Linked DNA regions of Homo sapiens: all the other regions are linked to region 1. The links are contacts of gene promoters, found by promoter capture Hi-C in blood cells and fetal thymus (Javierre and others, 2016). All regions are on one chromosome and are shown on one strand. Each heading gives the region's core, a stretch centred on a gene start or on the middle of the fragment in contact. The rest is flanking DNA. Distances are from core to core; before and after follow the strand shown.

What was found. The method cuts DNA at HindIII sites, captures the fragments that hold promoters and counts their contacts. A CHiCAGO score of 5 or more calls a contact.
Region 2: a fragment that was not itself captured here is called in contact with the fragment with the promoter of RPRM in region 1 in 1 of 17 cell types (M2 macrophages); the score reaches 5.5 in M2 macrophages.
Region 3: a contact is called between a fragment that was not itself captured here and the fragment with the promoter of RPRM in region 1, in 6 of 17 cell types (total CD4 T cells, naive CD8 T cells, non-activated CD4 T cells and 3 more). The highest score is 10.8, in total CD4 T cells.
Region 4: a contact is called between the fragment with the promoter of STAM2 here and the fragment with the promoter of RPRM in region 1, in 1 of 17 cell types (naive CD8 T cells). The highest score is 9.1, in naive CD8 T cells.

What each region holds. Positions count from the first base shown.
Region 1 is chr2:153,476,874-153,480,392 of GRCh38, reverse strand. RPRM (reprimo, TP53 dependent G2 arrest mediator homolog) reads left to right here and starts at 1,631. Exons shown (of 1, transcript NM_019845.3): 1 at 1,631-3,055. The coding sequence starts at 1,828. The coding sequence ends at 2,157. It also overlaps a transcript of GALNT13 not described here. RefSeq lists a silencer at 1,397-1,596 and enhancers at 1,953-2,456, 2,457-2,960, 2,961-3,464. The HindIII fragment of the contact is 6,762 bases long and covers 1-3,519 here.
Region 2 is chr2:155,306,029-155,309,547 of GRCh38, reverse strand. No RefSeq gene overlaps it. Among named protein-coding and RNA genes, the nearest start is that of KCNJ3, 610 kb to the right of the region's middle. The HindIII fragment of the contact is 371 bases long and covers 1,670-2,040 here.
Region 3 is chr2:152,029,794-152,033,312 of GRCh38, reverse strand. All of the region lies in intron 2 of CACNB4 (calcium voltage-gated channel auxiliary subunit beta 4), which reads left to right. Among named protein-coding and RNA genes, the nearest start is that of CACNB4, 67 kb to the left of the region's middle. The HindIII fragment of the contact is 4,901 bases long and covers 1-3,519 here.
Region 4 is chr2:152,174,030-152,177,548 of GRCh38, reverse strand. STAM2 (signal transducing adaptor molecule 2) reads left to right here and starts at 1,786. Exons shown (of 14, transcript NM_005843.6): 1 at 1,786-1,946. The coding sequence starts at 1,907. LOC105373689 (a long non-coding RNA gene) reads right to left here and starts at 2,016. Exons shown (of 3, transcript XR_923477.3): 1 at 992-2,016. RefSeq lists enhancers at 1,429-1,848, 1,325-1,848, 2,009-2,148, 2,199-2,248. The HindIII fragment of the contact is 5,938 bases long and covers 1-3,519 here.

The DNA of each region.
Region 1 (3,519 bases), core at 382-2,881:
TATTGCAGCTGATATACCATAAATATCAAAAAATTGAAAACTCAACCAGAAGGCATTTCATTCTATTTTATGATAGTCATGAAGCAGTGCAAAAACATTTAAGGAACACTCTGAAGATGGAATAAATGATGTTTTAAGAAACAGAAATAAGAGGATTTACCAAGCAAACAGAATGAAATTAAGAGTAGAGTTGAAAATGGCAAGACAGCTACTATTTTTCAGTTTTATTTTATTTTTAATTGACAACTGTACATATTTATGAGGTACAAAGTGATATTTTGATACACATATACATGTGGAATGATCAAATCAGAGTAATTAGCGTACCCATTATCTCAAATTTTTATCAGTTCTTTGTGGTGAGAACATTTAATAGAAAGTAAATGTATTCTATTGGAAGCTCAAGTTACTGGTTTCCAGCTGTTACAGCTGAAAGAAAGAGGGAGGAAGGCAGGGAGTAATGGGGAAAAGGAGGGAGGGGAAAGAAAACAGAAAAGGGGGAGCGGGAACATGCAATATTCTTTCAGAGTTAAGAAACTTAATCTGACAGGTTTATAGAATTTCGTTGGAACCTAGAGCAAAATCACAATGGCTGAAGCGTCAATCAGGCCTATAAAAACATCTGTGTTTAGTTTAAATGACTAAGGGTGAAATACATCAGCTTATGGAAAATGGGGAGGGCTCCCAGTATTTGGCCAGCGTTCTAGGTGATGGATGTTGATGAGCAATTCCCTTCAACAACTGATTTACTGCCAACGGACAAAATGCTGGAAGCACATCCAAAAACTTATCTGCAATTAAAATTACAAGCAAGTGGTCACTCTGTTCACCTCCTTTACCAGAGAGGTGACCCTGCTCCCGGCAACTACCTCCACCCAAGGGCCACAGAAGAACTCCTCCTTCCTCTAACCCTCTTTCCTTGGCCTCAAACCTCACGGTAAAACCTGCCTTGCTCTGTCTCCCAATCGCTTTTGTAAAGGAAGCTGGGTGTAGAGCTCTTCTTTCTCCCTCCCTTCCTTTTTTCTTTCCTTCCTTCCTTTCTTCCTTCCTTCTTCCATGCCTTTCTGTCTTTCCAAATTCATTGCTTTGTAAGAAACATTCTCAGATCACCTCCACTCCACTAGAAATCCAACGCAGGCGAGTCGGAGTCAAGCACAGGCAGTGGGCGGGTGGCCTCAGCCGGCACCATCTGGCACCTGCGATTCATCGCCACTTTCCATTCGCCCAGAGGTCAGGGGGGCAGCAGGCAAAGGACACGCAGAGCTCGTGTGTCCCAGTTCCTCTGAAACTTTCAGCTGACCGCACCCTCCCCCGACAAACTCTTTAATCATCCATCAAGCTAGAAGAGTACAGTGACCTCTGCCTGGCCTTTGGAGTTTGCAAAAGAAGCAAGCAATAAAAAGCAAGACCAGGTTCGCCCCTTTGCTTCCTCCACCTCCCAAGAGCAGCGCGCAGCGCGGCGGTGCGGCCGGAAGGGGCCGCTGTTTGCTCAGCGCAGCCACCCCGCCGCTGCAGCCGCCGCGGCCCGCACCTCCCACGGCCGGGCTGGTCCAGCCCCGCCAAGTTCCAACAGCCCCCCCTCGAGCGAGCGCCGGGAACGAGCACCACCAGGGCTGGAGCGGACGGCTTTAGAAGAGCCTAGCTGCTGCGCGCGTCGGAGAGGCTCCTGGGAAACTCCCACGGCCCAGGGACTTTCGAAAGCAGAGCGAGGAGCCCTCGCACGCGCTAGTCTGCGAGTGAGCGCTCAGCCCGGCACCTGTTCCTCCAGCGCCGCCGCCTTCCCACCCCTCGGACCCGCGCCGCTCGCGGCGCCCGCCCGTTCCTGCGATGAATCCGGCCCTAGGCAACCAGACGGACGTGGCGGGCCTGTTCCTGGCCAACAGCAGCGAGGCGCTGGAGCGAGCCGTGCGCTGCTGCACCCAGGCGTCCGTGGTGACCGACGACGGCTTCGCGGAGGGAGGCCCGGACGAGCGTAGCCTGTACATAATGCGCGTGGTGCAGATCGCGGTCATGTGCGTGCTCTCACTCACCGTGGTCTTCGGCATCTTCTTCCTCGGCTGCAATCTGCTCATCAAGTCCGAGGGCATGATCAACTTCCTCGTGAAGGACCGGAGGCCGTCTAAGGAGGTGGAGGCGGTGGTCGTGGGGCCCTACTGACCCGCCCTCTGCCCCCGCGGCAACCGCTCCCACGCCTGCCCACTTTGCTAGCCCGGCTGTGCCCCTCACTATCAGAGACTGGGCGAAGCAAACCTGTCGGAGTCAATTATTTCTCTCGACTTCGGCCTTTCGGAAAGAAGCGACCGGTTTCTCCCTCGCCCTCTGAAAGTCCTCATGCCTGGCAGTCGGAGGAGAGCGCCCAGACTCTGAACTCAGCAGAAAGTGGCAAGAAGAGGGCGATTAGGGCGCAGAACTTTGGAAGCTGCTACTTACTTGGAATGCGGGGAGACCGACGGTGCGAAGGCCCTTCTCCACCCGCAGGTGGGCCAAGCTCTGGGGGCAGGTGGAGAGGGCGGGCAGGGGAGAGACCCAGCGGCACTGATCGCCTTGTGACCGGAAGAGTGACCTGTTAAAAGCCACGCAGCAGACTCATGGGGTCTCACAAATCCGTGTCCGGGTGCGCTCCCACTCTTCTCCTGCTCCCCCCCTGCCCTGGAGGGGAGGGGCGATAAATACCTTTGATTGTAACGTGCCGTTTTAAGAGGTTTTGTGTTTGTTTGCTTGAATACAAATGTTTGATAAGTCTTTTTCTGCCCCAGTGGCCTGTTTGCCTGCCTGAGGAGTTACAGTTTTGTCATTGTGGGAGAAGGGGTGGGGGGAGGGGGAGCCTGCGAATTTGAACGGGGTGAGTTGTTTCTTTTAGTGCATTTCCCACTGGGTCTTTTGGGAGGCGTCTAGCGTTCCTGCTGGCCCTGGGACAAAGACCCAGAATAGAACTCGTAGCTCGTGACTGCACGGTTTACGCCACAAAAGTGCTCTTGACATCCGTGACACCGTTTTGACTTTTTGTTTTTTTCTTATTTAACATTTCCTTAATAAATGCAACATTTAAGCGTTTTGTTCCTGGCCTCCTGGTGGTCATTCTGCGCTCCCCAGCAGGGGGGAACGGGGCGGCGGTGAGGAGTCTGGCTCCCGGCCAGGGCAATTAACCCTGGAGAGCTGCGATTCAACTTGTGGATCCCCTGGAGGGGCGAGGGTGGGGCCAGACGGAGAGGCCCTGGGATGACTGAGAAGGAGCCCAGCCTCAGGCACAGTAGCCGTCCTGGAGGCAGCATCCTTTGTTTCCTCTTATCGTGAATATTTTATATTTCATTTAGTCTCAGCTCTCAGGTAGGCGAGACGACAGAAGGGCCCCCGCGGGAAGATTACACTTCCGTGCCAGGCTCCGGCGGGAACACAGGATTACACCGCTAATGAAAGGAAGAGACGGCTTGGACAGCCTTTAGGGAGGGCGTCTCTACCCTAACCAACGTCAGCCAGGCGGCTTTGGGATGCTGCCCACGGGTGGGGCCGGGGGGCGGA
Region 2 (3,519 bases), core at 606-3,105, 1.8 Mb before region 1:
AATCAGAACAAATATAAAATGTATTTTTAATGGCTTTAAAAATGTAAAAGATAAAAGTGAATTACTTATTTGCACAGGCATTTATAATTTATTTTTTTAATTTTTGTTTGAAAGGGAAAAAAGTTGAAACAAATCAGAGATTCAAATGTAGAAACCTAACTGCTACTGCTTCAATATGATCCTAAGAACAAGACACCAGAAACTTTTAGGTATGTCTCAGAAGAAGAAGAAGTGAAAAGTATACATCAGAGTTGCTTAAAGAAGAATCATTTCCTAGAGTGGGCACCGCCTCACACTATTTTCTTCTGTCAACTCTCGGAGATGCTTGTTTTGCAAAACCAAGCCTCCATCAAGAAACTAAGTACTAAACTGCTTGTGGAATAAAGGGTTTAGTTTTCAAACATTGGCATTCTGGAAAAGCATGGTGGTCACTTGTTGGAATAAATGCTGGGCAAGACAATCAATATTATTTTCCATATAAGTAGTAGTCCTCCAAGTGGGGTGGGATTTTACATTCTTTTGTCTTACAAATATTTATTTCTTATATGTTCCAGGTAGTCTTCCAGGTGCTAAACATACAATGGTGAATGAAATTGAATTATATTGCACATAATATTAGATAATAGGGTAGATTAATTACAAAATGGCTCTAATCTTTCACCCAATGCTTCAAAGATAGTGTGACTTTAAAGCTCTTCCTTTAAGGAAGTGGAATCTATTTCTCATTTCTTGACTCTTGGCTGTCCTGTGAACTGCTTTGGCAAATAGATATAGTGAAAGTGATGTGTGGGTTTCAGACTTAGGCCTCAAGATTCCCTGTGTGCTTCTGCCCTTTCTCAGAACCCTGGCACTTCCATGAAGAGAAAGCTAGGATAAGACTATCCTAGGCTCCATGATAAGAGACCATTTGGTAAAGCAGCAAGTCATCCCAACCCTTCTGATGAAGCCATACTAGAGCAGATATTAGTCAGCCCACTCGCAAACATATTAGAGAGCTGAGCAAATATTAGCAGAACTACAGACCTCTATCTAACCTAAGATACATATTTGAGCCCAGGCAAGACAGTAAAACCTGCCCAACCAACTTTAGATGTGACTTTGAAGTGGTTTTCTTACACTGCAAAAACTGATACAGATGGTATACTTTCTTTCAGAAAATATGTATTAGTAAAAGAAATATATATAAAATACTTTTATTTAGAATTGGTTTTATATAGAATATATACAATATATAAAATGCTTGTGTATGCAAATAGATGAAAACATGTTGGAGAATATTTCGCTGATGTAATAATTTAAGGAAAATGGGGAAGATGTGTAAAAATTAAAAGATATTTGCTAAAGATTAATGAGTGAATAATGCAATTAACTAACTTTATTTTAAGCATTATAAAATTAATATTAAGGAAAAGTATAATAATAATATACATTTTTATATGGATAGAAGTTTTCTTTAAATAAAAAGACTATGAATCCCTTGTATTGACTTAAAGAAAACTATTTTCTCAGCAGTAGACAAGGATCTCCTGAGAGAGCTATTCTGCCCTTAATTTCCGCCAATATGAACATTTATTTGGGAATGTTTAAATCAGAAAAAAACTTGAAATAAAGTGAATTTTGGAATTAATATTATTGGTGTCAGGGAATATTTGGCCCCATTTAATAAGCTTCTTAGCTTTGGAATTATAGAAAAATGCTCAAAACAACAAAAAAATTCACATGAACCATGGAATGAAATTCAAATAAGAGAAATGACTCCAGTTAGGTAGTAGGATTCTAAGAAATAAAATTTCATTATAAGTAATTTTGCTAATCACTATTAAAGGTGATGATGTAATTCTGATCTAGACATAAAACACAGCAAAAAGACTTTCAGTCTCAACTTCAGTCTTACTGCAACTTCCAGAATAAAAATTGCTAAAATATTTTCTCTTTGCTGTGAGGTTCTTAAATGTTGTGACACATGTGTTCTCTATTTTTCAGGGGCATAAAGAGGGGAGCTTACTGCTAACTGCTTCCTAGAATATTTGGGAATAAGCTTGTACTCTTGTATTTTTTCTACTACCCCAGGATTTCCCATCGTGAGGTAGGCTATGGTTTGTGTATACAAATAAGAGGTAGTATTTCTGAGACATGTGAGTCCCTCTTAGTCTATATGACTCCACTAGACATTATCCTTGTTAGAATATTCTATATTAGAATTATGGAATAGTAGACCTAGAAATAATTTTAAGGATATGCTAATCTCAGGTCTTCACGTAAAACAAAGGCCTTTAACTTTTTCTATAATATATAGATAGTGTGTGTATATGTACACCAAGATTTTATTCTTTGGTTACTTAAATATGTGATTTGCAGAATTATTTTTAACAGCGTGTTCGTATAATGATTTAAGTGGAAGAGTAAAATATAGTTTTATATGTACATTTTCTTTTAGTTGTTTATCATTTCTTTTTTACAACAAATTTCTACTGAGCACTAAATTTGGTTATCATGGCAGTGACAGATGGAAAAGAGGCATTCCCTAGCTAATTACAAAGGCTGTCCAGGTGCAGCAGCCAGAGCCATAAGAAACAGACAGCTGTACACTTTACTCATCTGTCAGGAATATTAATAGAGGTAACAAAATATGTTTATATAAAACAAGGGTATAACTGAGCTATAACAAATATCAGTATTTCCCCTCTGAGTGGCACTCCAGGATGACATGTCATAGAAAACTGACAAATGATTTCTGCTCACCTTTCTATATTATTAACCTGTACCTCTTATTTGGTTCCTCTGTGCTAGAGCCAAATCTTATGTAACTGGAATAATTGGGGAATAGTTTAATCTGATTAGTTTAAAATACATTTCAAGCATCATATTTCCAAGAATTTGTATTCTTAACATATTTCAAATTAAAATGTTTCAGAATGTATTATTTTATACAGTTTGTAAACAAAATAGAGAAATTAACTGATCTTATCTGATTCAGTAATTATAATTTGTTGTGTTTCTGATCAACTTCACATTTAGTAATTTAAACTTTTGAAAATAAAAATTATAACTTGTATGGTCAGTTATCTAATCTCGCTGAAATGTAGGAAGAAAATGATTTCATGTTTTTAAGAGACTTAATTTCTGAGCAGTATAATTTATTTTTATATAATTTTTGTTATCATTTTCTTTATATTTTGATGGCATAGAATAAGAAAATGTCAAATATGACTTTGCCTACACTATTTTATTATTTTGAAAGTAAAGATAAGTATTTCATATGGTGAGAAACTCATCTTTATTTAGCAGTATTTTCATTTTCACAATAACACTGAATACAAAAGTAAAGATGCTTTCCAGAATACATATAGAAGTCTCTTTTCATCTTCAGTAGAAAAAAATATGCCCAGTATGGTCAAACTGTAAAAAATTCTAAATAAATTTTTTTTTCTGAAATTCAGCAACATTTTTTATAAACAAGTAAGTGGATACTAAAGGTGGTAGTAAATAAAGACTTTTAAAAATGACCTATCTTAGAGA
Region 3 (3,519 bases), core at 712-3,211, 1.4 Mb after region 1:
CGTCTACACCACCAAGCGGGGATTTAATGGAAGCATTTCATTTGCTTCAGCAAGTCAAAAGCTGCCCTTTTGTAAAAACGTGTAAGCATGCCTCTTCATCCTCATTCCCCCACCCCGCTTCTCCTCATTCATTATTTAACCAGCCGCCTGGGTCTTCTTTCTGCTCTCAAGCATGCCAGTCCCTTCCCCACCTGGGGACCTTGGCCCTGTCTGTTCCTCTTGTTTGGCATGCTGTTCTCCAGGGCCTTGCCTGGCTGCCACTGCCTCACTTAGGCCTGAAGCAGAACCTCTGCAGGGGAACCTGTCTACACCAAACTAGTTCATTTTTCTACCTTTTTATTTATTTATTTTTTTTTTAAGAGACAGGGTCTTGCTCTATTGCCCGGGCTGGAGTGCAGTGGCATAATCATAGCTCACTGCAGCCTTGAACTCCAGGGCTTAATCAATTCTCTTGCCTCAGTCTCCTGAGTAGCCAGGACTATAGGCGTATGCCAACATACCCAGCTAATTTTTTTGTTTTTGTAGAGATGGGGGGTCTCACTATATTGCCCTGGGTGGTCTTGAAGTAATCTTCCTGCCTCAACCTCCCAAAGTGCTGAGATTATAGGCATGAGCCACCACACCCTGCCTAAAAAATCTTTTTAAGATGGAAACATATAAAGTATATTGAGACTTTCTTTGGAGAGAGAAAATGCATTAAGCAAAAAAGCATTTAGATTTTTTTGAATTCCCTATTATTAAAAATAAAGTTGTATTAAAATGTCTCGGTAATATATGGTTAAACCATAGTCTCTATTTGTGTTTTTTAAGGAATTTGTAATTAATTGTGGCTTTCTTAAAATCATGACCGACTGAGTTAGATGTGCCACCATCAATAGTTGATAGCTAAAATTAGTAGCAAGTTAACAATTTACTTGTTCATTTCCATGGGCTGCTAAGTAGATTTTGGTCCAATGTATTTTAGGGGAAAAAATGTTACACTGAGAGTCAGGAGACATGGCTGTTGCCCCTTCCTGGCTGTGTGGCCTGGGTCAGTCCCTTCCCTTCTCAGGCCAATTTCTTATCCGTGGAGCAAAGATAATGGACGGGGGGAAGGGGATTCCTTCCAGCTCTCCACAGTCTCTGGTTCTATATTTTGAAGCCATCTGTGGGGCAGTTTTAACAGAAGGTCTGAAAAAATCAGACTTGGTCATGTGCCTCCTATTCCTTTTTTCTCTCTCTCTATTTGCCACATCCTTTCCCCACACTATAGAAGGATCCAGACACTCGAATCATCAAGGCTCTGTTGCTCTCCGCTCTTGCCTGAATATGAAATGAGGGAGTTTGCTGTCCCCTGATGGAGCCTTCGTTCAAGCAAGCCACGGGCTGTGAGGCTTTCACCCTTGGCTTGGCAAGACTGTCAGCACGGTGCTTCCCTTTTAGAGAGCCTAATGCCAACAGAAAGGGCAGTTTTCTAGTAATGGAGGAAAATATCAGTTTTCAAAAATATGGATAATTTTTAAAACCTCCTCTTTTTCCTGTTGCCTAGTTCTCTACCATTAACTCCAGGTCTCTCTTCAGGGTCTAGCAGAGACCCTGCTGACTGTCCTCTCACTCCTTAGAGGCCATCAGGACTCTGAAATCCGAGGATTAATGGCGGCCGGGAGGGGCTGATGGGCAGGGGAGAAAGCCTAGGATTAAGGATGAGGAGACCTGAGCTCCATCTGTGGATCCTCCTCTGCCTGGTCCCAGGCCTTTGAGCAAGCCCCTGGCTGTGTCTGACCTGCCTTCCTCCCTCAGGTTGTGCTGCAGAGGGGCCACAGTACAGATAACACAGCACCCGTCAACAGTGGGATATTAGGAGGAGAAGAAGTCTCCGCTCACCTGCGTGTGCTCTCTCATCCTCAGAGTCCCATGTTTCCAGTTTCTGGAAGGTCCTCCTACCAGCCTGAACTACATGCATTGTATAACACGTAACTGCAATTTAAATCTTGATTTACCCTCAGAGTCTTATTCGGTCATTAAGTCATCATCATAATATCTTGTACCTGTTACTTGTTCAGATTTAATAATTTGTGAAGTGTCCTTTGTGGGGTGACCAACAGTCCTGGGGACTGAGGGGTTTCCCAGGATGTACAATATTAGGTGCTAAAACTGAAAGAGTTCTGGGCACATCAGGATGATGGTCATTCTTCTCTTGGTTCCTCTTTTTCTTTCTGGAAGGAAGTTTCTCTGTAAATTGTTATTTCTTCATCTGTAAAATATCTTGCTAGTCCCGTGGCAATACCGCCTGTCTACCCCAAGTACCCTTTCTCCTGGACTGCTTGTATCCACTTCCCTGTTACTGCTGTGTTTTCTGCCCAGGGCTGAGGCTGTGCAGTGAATGAATCATCTTTCCCCAACCTTGCTTGACATCAGTATCAATTTTAGAAGGTGAGAGTGCCACATTTTCTTAATCCAGTCTATCATTGATGGACATTTGGGTTGGTTCCAACTGGATTAAGAAAATGTGGCACATATACACCATGGAATACTATGCAGCCATAAAAAAGGATGAGTTCACGTCCTTTGTAGGGACATGGAGGCAGCTGGAAACCATCATTCTCAGCAAACTATTGCAGGGACAGAAAACCAAACACTGCATGTTCTCACTCATAGGTGGGAATTGAACAATGAGAACACTTGGACACAGGAAGGGGAACATCACACACTGGGGCCTGTCAAGTGGGGAGGGATAGCATTAGGAGATATACCTAATGTAAATGACAAGTTAATGGGTGCAGCACACCAACATGGCACATGTATACATATGTAACAAACCTGCACGTTGTGCACATGTACCCTAGAACTTAAAGTATAAGAAAAATAAATAAATACATAAAATTCTTTTCAATAACAATGGAAACAAAATTTTCTAAAATTATGAGATCATATCTGTAAAAATTAATGATGATCTTGTGTAAAATTTCATCTATACATAGTGAATTATACTATTAATATTGATGAAAAAATGTAAACATAAATCTAGTGTCTTATAAGCATGAAAAATGTCCAAGTATTTTCAATGTTGTGTTTCTTTTGTCTTAACAAACATGTCCTACAGTGTTATTTGACTATGTGTGAATTTTATTTTTTCAAGACTGTGTTAATATAATCCTCAAACTATTTTAGAAGCAACTAAATAGTGAATAAAGTGAAGAGTAGAAATGTAATCAGAAAAAAAAAAGAAGGTAAGAGTGCTCACAATTGCCTCAAAAAGAAAATGAGGCTTCTTGAATTTGCACTTCAGCATTCTCTACTCAGTGCACCTGTTTGTGTAATTTGCTCTTTTCTTGTTATCATGATGCATGACTGTATTAGTCAGCTCAGGATGCCACAACAAAATACTGTAGACCAGGTGGCTTAAACAACAGGAATTTATTTCTCACAGTTCTAGAGGCTGGGAAGTCCGAGATCAAGGTGTTGGTAGATTTGGTGTCTGCCAAAGGCCAACGTTCTGGTTCATGGATGGTGCCTTCTTCTCACTGTGTCCTCAAATGG
Region 4 (3,519 bases), core at 537-3,036, 1.3 Mb after region 1:
TAAATAATTATTGAGTGCCTTAATCAAAATAAAAAATTCCCAGCTTGCCCTTTAAAATTCTTGTCAATCTGTTTCCTCTTATACCTAGTCAGCCTTGTTTTCCATTCCAACACTAAGTCTTAGACAAAAAGTCTTTATCTGTCCAAAAAATCTCTAAGTCTTTTTTTTTTTTCTTTTTTCGAGACAGAGTCTTGCTCTGTTGCCCAGGCTGGAGTGCAGTTGCCTGATCTTGGCTCACTGTAACCTCTGCCTCCTGGGCTCAAGTGATTCTCGTGCCTCAGCCTCCCAAGAAGTTGGCATTACAGGCTTGCGCCACCATGCCTGGCTAATTTTTGTATTTTTAGTAGAGACGGTTTTTCGCCATGTTAGCCAGTCTGGTCTTGAACTCCTGGCCTCAAGCAGTCTGCCCGCCTTGGCCTCCCAAAGTGCTGGGATTACATGCGTGAGCCACCATGCCCGGCCTCCCAATTTATCTTGAACATCCCTAGGTTCAACGTTCTATGAAAAACAGCCCCTTCTGCACGATTCCTTCTCATTTGTGCCCCGAACTTTATAAAATGCAACCACCTTTCTGAATGTGTATGAGCTCTCTATAGCATCAGGTCTTTATACTAGAGTTTGTAAAATGGTTTTGATTAATCTATTATTTAAAATGTTGGAGTAATTCTCAACATTTAAACATCATTGAAAAATTGCAAACTCTAGTAGGACCCACATTTCAATAAATGGCTGCAATTTACCAGTAGTTGACATCTTTAGATACGCACTGTTCAGTTAGAAAGTTACAGCTTCATTCGAAAAGCATTGAGCGTCTATTACTTGGGACACTGTTTTAGACGCTGGGGATATAGTAGTGACCAAAACTTATCAGGGAGTTTATAATCTAATGAGGAGGAGAGACAGGCAACATAATCATTACTACAGTTTTCTAAGAGGAACAGAGAATATGTGGGTGGGAAGGGTGCTTGGGCTTTTGCATTCATTTAAATACCTGGCTGGATGCTGTTGGAATTTGAGTTTATGACTCGTACTACCATCCGAATCGTCATACACCATCATGTACGTTATGCACTGCCCCTATAAAACTCTCAACAAGTCTAAGGCAGGGAGTGTGCCTCCTTCGCCTTTGGATTCCGGGGGCCCAGCAGTGTTTTTATGGAGGGGACACGATGGAAAGCGAAAAGTTAGGCGTAGTTACTTCGACCACCGCTGTCCCGGGTGGTTATTCTGACGGGGTTTGGACTGGGCGCCTGGGAGGGTGCAACACAATAATTGTTGAAGAGCAGTCAGGTCTTTCGCAGAATCTCAAAGCCACCTCCGCGCCGGCAGCTCCGTTTCTAGGGAAACAGGACTGTAACGCGTACGCGTCGTGGGTCCTCGTTCTCTAGCTACGAGTCCTGCCGCTCTGAAACAAACTAAATTCGTGACAAGAACTTGGCCCTCAGAGCCCGTCGTCCAACGCGAAAAACCACGGGTAACCGCGCCCCCTGCCGCGCCGCCGCTGGCACTGCAGCTTCCGGGGTCGTCCAGTTCCAGGCGGGACTACTTCCGGCTCCGAAGGTCCCCGGCTTCGTGGCTAGCCGGGGTCCTAGCGCTGGAAAGGTGGCCGTAGCGGCCGCCTGACCCCTACAAAAGTCTGGGACAGGGGCAGCGACAAAGGCCTTGGGAGGACGCCCATGGTCGGAGGGATCTCGCCCCGGGAGAAAAGTTGGGACAGGAGCGCGGGATCGAAGGGTGGACTCCGAGCCGGCCTGTCAGGCAAGAGCCGGGCAGGTGCGGTGGCGGAAGTGCAGGGACGGAGGCCGAAGCGGAGCGGTCTAGGGAGCCGCGGCCGCGGGTCACCCGGCGGGTAGCAGTTGCTGAGTGTCAGCTAGACAGCAGCGACTAGGGCTCGGGCGCCGGCGAGATGCCTTTGTTCACCGCCAACCCCTTCGAGCAAGACGTGGGTGAGTGCTGTGCCCGGTCCTGGACTGCTGTGTGCCTGGCCCTGGACTGCTGTTTGTCCGGCTAGAAAGTGGGCGGTAGCGACTCCGGGGACTAGGAAGCAAAGCGAAGGGAGGGGAGGGGCGGTGCCGCCCGCTCCTTCGACGTTGGGATTTTTCTGGGGCAACCTCGGCGCGTCGCTAGCGGTCTGGGGAGTGCTTCCTGCCGCCTGAGTTTGGGGACCCTCAAAGGGCCGTTCTCCTTGCCAAGCGTAGGATTTGGGAAGAGCCTAGGGCTCGCTGGAGACTGGACTGATTAAGTAGTTGTGGAGTTGGTGATTAAAAACTTCCTGCTCGTTCGACAGCTGGTTACCTCCGTCTTTGCCCCATCGTTTTCTGAAGATGATGCAGCAGTGGAGACCCTGCTGTCTAGAGAAGCCCAACACTAGACACTTGACACCTAGACAACCGCATTGAATAGGAAGAACTTACTTCCCCATTATTTATATTACTCATGCATTCAATCCCTGATAGGGTAGCTTTAAGATTTATTACAATTGTAAAGGTGTTGCTCTTCATCCCCGGATTGCAAAGATTGCGCGGGTGCTAGGAGATGTTCGGTTTTAGAGTATGAAAAGGAAATCTCCAGTCTCAAAACACTCCAGAACAACAAGTATTTTACATGTTGCAGTCATAAAGCGCTGGTCTCTCAGTGACTATAGAATGAGAAAAACATGGATAAGATATATACGAAATTATTTAGGAAATTTGAGTAACACTAAAACAAACTGAGAAATATATGTATGTATTCTCGAAAGTCTGGGTCTCACTATGTTGCCCAGGTGCGACTAGAATTCCTCCCACCTCAGCCTCCACCTCCGTTTCCCCTTCCCGAGTAGCTGGGACTACAGGTTTGTTTTTTGTTTGTTTTTGTAGCAGTAGTTAACAGAACCCTAGGTAAATTTTTAGAACTTGGAAATGGGGTTGGGGCGGGGAGACTCAGAAGAATACTGCACATCTCAGCAGTAATTCCCCTGTTTCATAGTTAACATTTGGTTATTAGGAGACTGTAGAAAGTGCCCTATTCTGATACGTTGTGTAATCCCCTAAGCCATTTTAAAAAACATGTTTGAGTCAAATAATATATGTAAATAGTTCAAATATGTATGTTCCTTACTTCATTAAACTTTTTTTTTGGTGGATGAATACAGGTGACTGGCGTAAATCTGGGAAACATCACTCTTAAGGCTCACTGTTTCCTTTTGGAACGCCTCATTGCAGTATTCTTTTGTTTGAATCATACAACCTTTGTGCAACCTGTACTTTTAAAAAATTGCTATTATGAACACTTTGATTCTGTTCTAATGAAATAAAACAGAAGGCGCAAAATAGAATTAGACAAATGATTTTAAAACTTAAAAACCGTGAATTCTTTTCTTCAATATAAATTTTTCTTGAAAGTTCATTGTTTTCTGATGGAAAAATTCTCTGGTACAAGTAGGCAGAGTTGCTCTGTCTGTTCTGTTCTAAACCTTTCCCTGCCTGGCTCCCGAGGCCCCAGCATTGGTTTAGTGGATCACAGTTTAGTCCTACAGTT